Regions from separate parts of the Homo sapiens genome. Here region 1 is linked to region 2. Evidence: promoter capture Hi-C in human tissues and cell types (Jung and others, 2019). All regions are on one chromosome and are shown on one strand. The core of a region is centred on a gene start or on the middle of the fragment in contact, and the rest is flanking DNA. Distances in the headings are between cores, read along the strand shown.

What was found. The method cuts DNA at HindIII sites, captures the fragments that hold promoters and counts their contacts. A contact is called where the count stands out against the background at its distance.
Region 1: a fragment that was not itself captured here is called in contact with the fragment with the promoter of AMER2 in region 2 in 1 of the 25 tissues and cell types used here (dorsolateral prefrontal cortex).

The regions. Positions count from the first base shown.
Region 1 is chr13:25,480,946-25,484,197 of GRCh38, forward strand. All of the region lies in intron 2 of ATP8A2 (ATPase phospholipid transporting 8A2), which reads left to right. Among named protein-coding and RNA genes, the nearest start is that of ATP8A2, 110 kb to the left of the region's middle. The HindIII fragment of the contact is 4,258 bases long and covers 1-3,252 here.
Region 2 is chr13:25,170,713-25,173,825 of GRCh38, forward strand. It overlaps AMER2 (APC membrane recruitment protein 2), which reads right to left and starts at 1,576. Exons shown (of 1, transcript NM_152704.4): 1 at 1-1,576. The coding sequence starts at 907. It overlaps LINC00463 (long intergenic non-protein coding RNA 463), which reads right to left. Exons shown (of 4, transcript NR_120428.1): 4 at 2,112-2,610. RefSeq lists a silencer at 66-155 and an enhancer at 2,435-3,113. The HindIII fragment of the contact is 4,196 bases long and covers 1-2,864 here.

The DNA of each region.
Region 1 (3,252 bases), core at 180-2,679, 310 kb after region 2:
GAGCTGGAGACCAGCCCGGGCAACACAGCGAAACCCCGTCTCCACCAAAAAAATATGAAAACCAGTCAGGCGTGGCAGCGCGCGCCTGCAATCACAGGCACTAGGCAGGCTGAGGCAGGAGAATCAGGCAGGGAGGTTTCAGTGAGCCGAGATGGCAGCAGTACAGTCCAGCTTCGGCTCGGCATCAGAGGGAGACCGTGGAAAGAGAGGGAGAGGGAGACCGTGGGGAGAGGGAGAGGGAGAGGGACAGGGAGAGGAACAGGGACAGGGACAGGGACAGGGACAGGAGTACTGGTCTTCATAGTTACTTCCCAATATTGTTTTTGCCCACATTTTCTGATGGGACATGCAGACTGCATTTCCCAGTTTCTCTTGTAACTAGCGACTGTGTGGCCAACTTCAGGCCAGTGGTCTCTCAGAAGAGTCACATGGCAGTTCTAGGAGCCCTCCTGAGACTCAACGCCCATGCATCCTTCATTCCTCCTCCATCCTGAGCCAGGAATGTGGATGCCTGTATGATTCTTAAACCATTTGTTCTTTTGGGAGGGTTAATTTAGTTTAAATTGGATAAAGTGATGGATGACTCCACCTAGCTGGGACCTGGAAATTGAAATGTGTAGTAGTAAGGAGAGAGACAGACAGGGAGGGTACCACTGTTATCCCTGTATTAGCTCAGGCTGCCATAGCAAAATACATAGACTGCGGGGGCGTAAGCAGGTGTTCGTCTTCTCATAGTTCTAGAGGCTGGAAGTCCAAGATCAGGGTGCCAGCATGATCTGGTTCTGGTGCGGGCTCTCTCCTGGCTTGCAGATAGCTGCTTTCTTGCCATGTCCTCCCAGAACAGAGAGAGTGAGCAAGAGCAAGAGCGAGAGTGAAGGAGAGACAGAGTGAGAGCTCTCTGTCTCTAATAAGGGCACTAATCCCATCTTGAGGGTCCCACCCTCATGACCTCATCTAATCCTAATTATCTCCAAAAGGGCCCAACAGTAGCATCCCATCACATTGGGGGTTAGGGCTTCAACATATGAATTTTAGGAAGGACACAGTTCAGTCCATAGCACCACCCACCCTTCCCATTAAAGAGGTTCCTCTCCAGCCACATTACATAGAATTACGTTGGGACACCAGTGTCAGTGCATTTAATAAATGTTCCTGAAGCTTATTTTTTGGAGGTATATATAAATATAAGCTCTGATAGCATCTTCCCAAACCCCACTTGGAAGCCACCTGCTTTAGATTCAGTTGATTAGGGCCCGCCTTAGAGGAAAACCATCTGGTCAGACCCAGTCTGACTTTTACTTTAGGCCCCAGGAACTCTGAGACTGATCATAAGTCTTGTTCCTTAAGTACCATTCATAATCCTACATTTGGTATATGTGAGGTAAGCATTGCAGTCCCTCTCTGTCAAGAATTGGGGGTGCGTGGTTAGTGGCAGCACTGCAGGGGTGGGAAAGTAGAAGGACGGGGCAAAACTGCTAGTAGAGACCAATGAGCTGGGCCTGAAAGATGAGTACGAGTCAGCCTGGAAACTTGGGTGGGGCTTGGTGGGGAGGGCAGGCCAGACATGGGGAACCCCATGTGCAGAGGTGCAGAAGAGTGTAACGGCCAGGTGTATGTCTTTCCAGAAAAGATGTGGAAGAAGAAGGTGATGTGGTTTGGCTCTGGGTCCCTACCCAAATCTCATCTTGAATTGTAGCTCCCATAATTCCCATATGTTGTGGGAGGGACCTGGTGGGAAATGATTGAATCATGGGGGCGGTTTCCCCCATACTATTCTCGTGGTAGTGAATAAATCTTATGAGAGCTGATGGTTTTATCAGGGGTTTCCACTTTTGCATCTTCCTCATTCTCTCTTTGCCTGCTGCCGTCCATGTAAGACGGGACTTGCTCCTCCTTGCCTTCCACCATGATTGTGAGGCTTCCCCAGCCATGTGGAACTGTAATTCCAATTAAACCTCTTTCTTTTGTAAATTGCCCAGTCTGGGGCATGTCTTCATCAGCAGCGTGAAAACGGACTAATACAGAAGGGATGATGGACAAAGTGCTGTGAAAGGCCAGGCTACTGGAGACGGGCTGCTATAGCCAAGAAAAGCTTTTATGAGCCAGGTGACAAAGTGATAGATAGTACTTGGGTTTGATGTGCACAGCCACCTGCTCTGCATTTAGAATAAGCATATGAGGCTGCTGTCATTGCCCAGGAAGAGGTGCAGGGCTATACTGCTGCAGGAGAAGAGAAGCACTTGGGATGGTTAGCAGTGGGGCTGTAAGTGGACAGAGCACTAGGCAAGTGTGATTTCCAGGTTCCAGTGTTAGTGACGGAGAAGGTGTTGATGCTGTTTCTTGTGTTTCTGAGTTTTGTTTTGAACTATTTTGAACTGTGGAATGGGGCAAGGTGATTGACCTCAGAATAGCAGAAAGCCCCTTTCACCCCAGTATGAGACCACCCCAGGGGAGCAGAGATACACATGTAGGGGGTGATCTCTGTTGGTTGCGTCATGAAGGAGCTCCTTCCTCCAGCAAGGTAGGGGCAGCACTGGCGCTCTTGGAGAGACACCAAACTTTTGACAGATCTTTCCCTACCTCTAGATCTGTTTGGTTTCAAGATACTCCAATTAATAAACTGGAAGTAGAATAATGTCATAGCTTACAGCATGATGAGAATTAAATGAGAACATCTGGGCACAGTGGCTCATGCCTGTAATCCCAGCACTTTGGGAGGCCAAGGCAGGAAGATTGTTTGAGGCTAGGAGTTTGACACCAGCCTGGGCAACATAGTGAGATCCTATGTCTACAAGAAAAAAATAATTAGATGAGAATGTACCTGTTTAAGGCTGCACTGTGTAAGAGCTCACAGACTCACACAGAGTTGCTCATTGACACCAGTTATCTGGTTATTACGAATGTTGTTCTTCTTTGCCACTCATTTTGCTCTCTAATTCTTTGATAACCAAAACAATCAATTATAAGCTGTAACTCGGGGAAAAGGGAAGTGGACTTGCGTATTACTCTGCCCAAGAGTTACACATTGCCAAGGGAAGAAATATGCAGGCTGAAGAATCACAAGGTAGGTTTTGGGCATTAGGGTCTTTTGTACATATATGTTTTCTAGCCTGTAACTGCTAGGAACAAGCAGGCTGGACTGCGAGCATAAGATGAGTCTAAAATGTGTTTGAGAGTGCATGTGTGGATTGGTGTTAAATCAAGAAACTGGCTTCTCCTTTTGGTGTCGTGAAAGAACACAGTTGCATATAA
Region 2 (3,113 bases), core at 326-2,825:
GCCCCGCGGCGTCCTCTCCCCGGGCGCCGGTGTCGCCGGGGTGCGCGAGGCCCTCTGCCTCTCGGCAGCTCCGCGCTGGGGCGCGGTCGGCGGGGGCGGGCACCTCCTCTCCCCCTGCGGGCTCACCTGCTGGGTCTCGCGGGGCGTCCTGGCTGGGCTCCTCCGGCTCGCGCGCGGCTCTGGGCGTCTCCTCCTTGACGCACTCCAGGCTGGCGGTGAGCGAGCCGGGTAGGATCAAGCCGCCCCCGGGCGCGCGCCCCTCCGCGGCCTCCGCCTTGGCCCGCTTGTCTTTCCTGTGCCAGCGCATGCCGCTGAACAGCCCCCGCAGCCCCCGCTTTTGTTTGCCGCCGGCCTTGCTCGCGTCCACAGGCTCTCCCTTGCCGTTTTCCGAGCGCCCGTTCTTCTTCAGCAGCGAGAAGAAGCTGTGCGACTTGGCCACCGAGCTGCTGGCGAGGGAGCCCCCGCCGGGCCCTGCGGCTCTGGGGGGCCCCGGGTTCGGCCGCCCCCCGCCGCCCCCGCCGCTGTCGCCCCCGCCGCGCGGCTCCTCCTTCCTGCCGCTCTCCAGCACCAGCACCTCGGCAAGTCCGTCGTGGGTCCTGCTCCTCACCAGCCCCGTCGGACCCGAGCTTTTCCCGTCCCCTTTGTTTTTGACCCCAAAAATGCTGGGCATGGTGCCACCCGATTTCCTCTTCTTGAATAATTTGAAGGCAGCTTTATTAATCTTCCCCGACGGCGGCTCGGCGGCCGGCGTTTCGGCGGCACAGTCACAATGCAAGTCCATGTCTGCCGCGAGGGTCCCGGTCCCGGCCCCGGCCTCCGCCTTCCTCCTGCAGACCCCCACGGACGCGCCAGCTCCGCCGCGCTCGCTGACAGCCCCGCCGCCGCCGCGGCTCCGGCTCGTCTCCATGGAAACCGCGCGGGATAAGCCGCTTTCGTCAGCAGTGGGCTCGCGCCAGGCCACTGTCACCCGTATTCTAAATCAACCTGAGCCGCGCTCGCCGCCGCCGCTGCAAAAGAAACACACATAAAAGACCATCTTCCCTCCCGCAAGGGCTTATATAATACCCTAACCCACTTCCATCCGACTTGGCTCGGCGCTGCATGGCGTTTTTGTGGCAGGAGCAGGCAACACAGCCGCGAGCTGATTGCAGAAATTCGAGTCGTAATTATGGAATTCAAATTCCCTCAACTCTCACCCACCTTCGGATTCCTTCTCTAGACTCGCTCTTCACGGGAGCGCAACCATGGATCACGAAATGCCTCTAAAAACGACAACGCAATTCAACCCACCACAAAATGCTTGTTTTTCTTATCCTCTCTCCTAGACTCCCTGCATCTTCATGCCTTTCCCAAGCCCTTCATGTCTGTCCTTAGCATTGGTGCACTAAGCCCAGCAGGCAGGAAGCATGTCTGCCTACATCCATGTCTTGTCCAGAGCTGAGCACACGCTAGGTCCATGCTGTGTGGCTGTCATTGTGGTTATGGTTCTTGTGACAAAAGTACACGCCACCACTCAATCAGTCTATCAGCAGCCCAGCAATGCAAGCACAACAGCTCCCCGGGGTGGAGTTTGCCTGCACCTTTGGGACAACCATGACTTTTATCCCAGACTCCAGCCACCACGGGATGAAGTCACAGATGCTGCGGCACAGCCCACATCTGATAACAATAGACAAGCTGACCGAGACACACAGGCTGGGAATCTCAGACCCACTCCACAGGTGGGCCTTCGAGTCCGGGTTCTGCCCTCTCCTTTCCCACTCAGCAGGACAGTGGCATTATTCCTGTCACTGCGGTACCACTCCCCTCCCCCATACCACCAGGGCTGACTTGTAGTCCCCTTCCCCAATGTACAGAGCAGGAAAAGCTTGGCAGGGGTCCCTGTGTGTCCAGGGATCTCTGCAGACATTCCTACCTGCCTGGTCTGGGGAGAGGGAAAACCTTTTTTCTGGGAACAGCTCAGTCTAGGGATCTGTTCTGTGTTCTGATTTAAAAAGTGACTGCTAATATTCTAATCTTGACATCTGATTTCATAATCCCAGCTGAGTGCTTTTTAGCAAAAAGAAATTTGGAGAAGCATATACATATATAAATATAACATGTATATATAGTATATATTATTTAATCATTTGATTATTTATTAAATATCATTTAAGAATATATGTAATAATTACATATATACACAAACAGTAGTCTTTTCCCTACTCATTTTTTATATGCTCTTTGCATTAGGCCAATAAATCCCAATCCCCATCCACATAAGTTGGCGTTTTATAAATGACGTATGTTGGCCATTGCAGCTTCTGTTGTTATGAGATACAGCTGGTTAAAATTTAGACCTTGGAGTTCTTAGTTGTATTATTTCCTTTTTTTGTTTATTTTTTTCAAGAACACTGTTTTGTAAAACGAAGAAATCAATGAGTTCAGGTTCAGGAGAGGTTGTCACTTCCAGACTCTAATCCCATCAACTCTTTCTCACTATTGATGAGCATCTCTCCTGGTACAGGAAGTAAGGTGAGGCCAGAGAGAGGCTTTCCCGGATTCTAATTGACCGCTTGACATGATGAATCAGAGTCCTCAGTGCTTTCTGGGGAGACCACGTGTAAGGAACTGTAAAGAGAAACCCATTTGTTACGTCTTTACAACCTTTTGAAGAACAATAGAAAGTCTCTCAATTTTACACACATACACACACACACACACAAACACACACACACCCATACAGTTGCTTAGATTTGTGGGTTACTATGTAGCTCTGTCAGTTTGGAAGAGTTTGTGACTGGGATCAAGGAAAAGTAAGTCGCCTATTAAAAAATCTCCCTTTCTCCACTGGGAGAAAGTGGTCTGCTTATTCACCCATCAGGACAGGTCAAATGTGACTCTAATTTACATGAGAATCTTTGGGCCTCCTGGGAGAAATCTGATAGAGGACTTTGGGATGGATATCATTCTTTTGGGACATCAACACTCAAACAAAGAGAAAGAGACAAAGCTGTCTTCAGCCTGCGGAAGGTGCCCTCACTGTGAGTTACTGGCCCTGAGATAGAAGAAAGCAGGGACCCCTGGAACAATCTGAAGGCACTGGGCATGGGAGCTGTAGAGGCTGCGGTGTG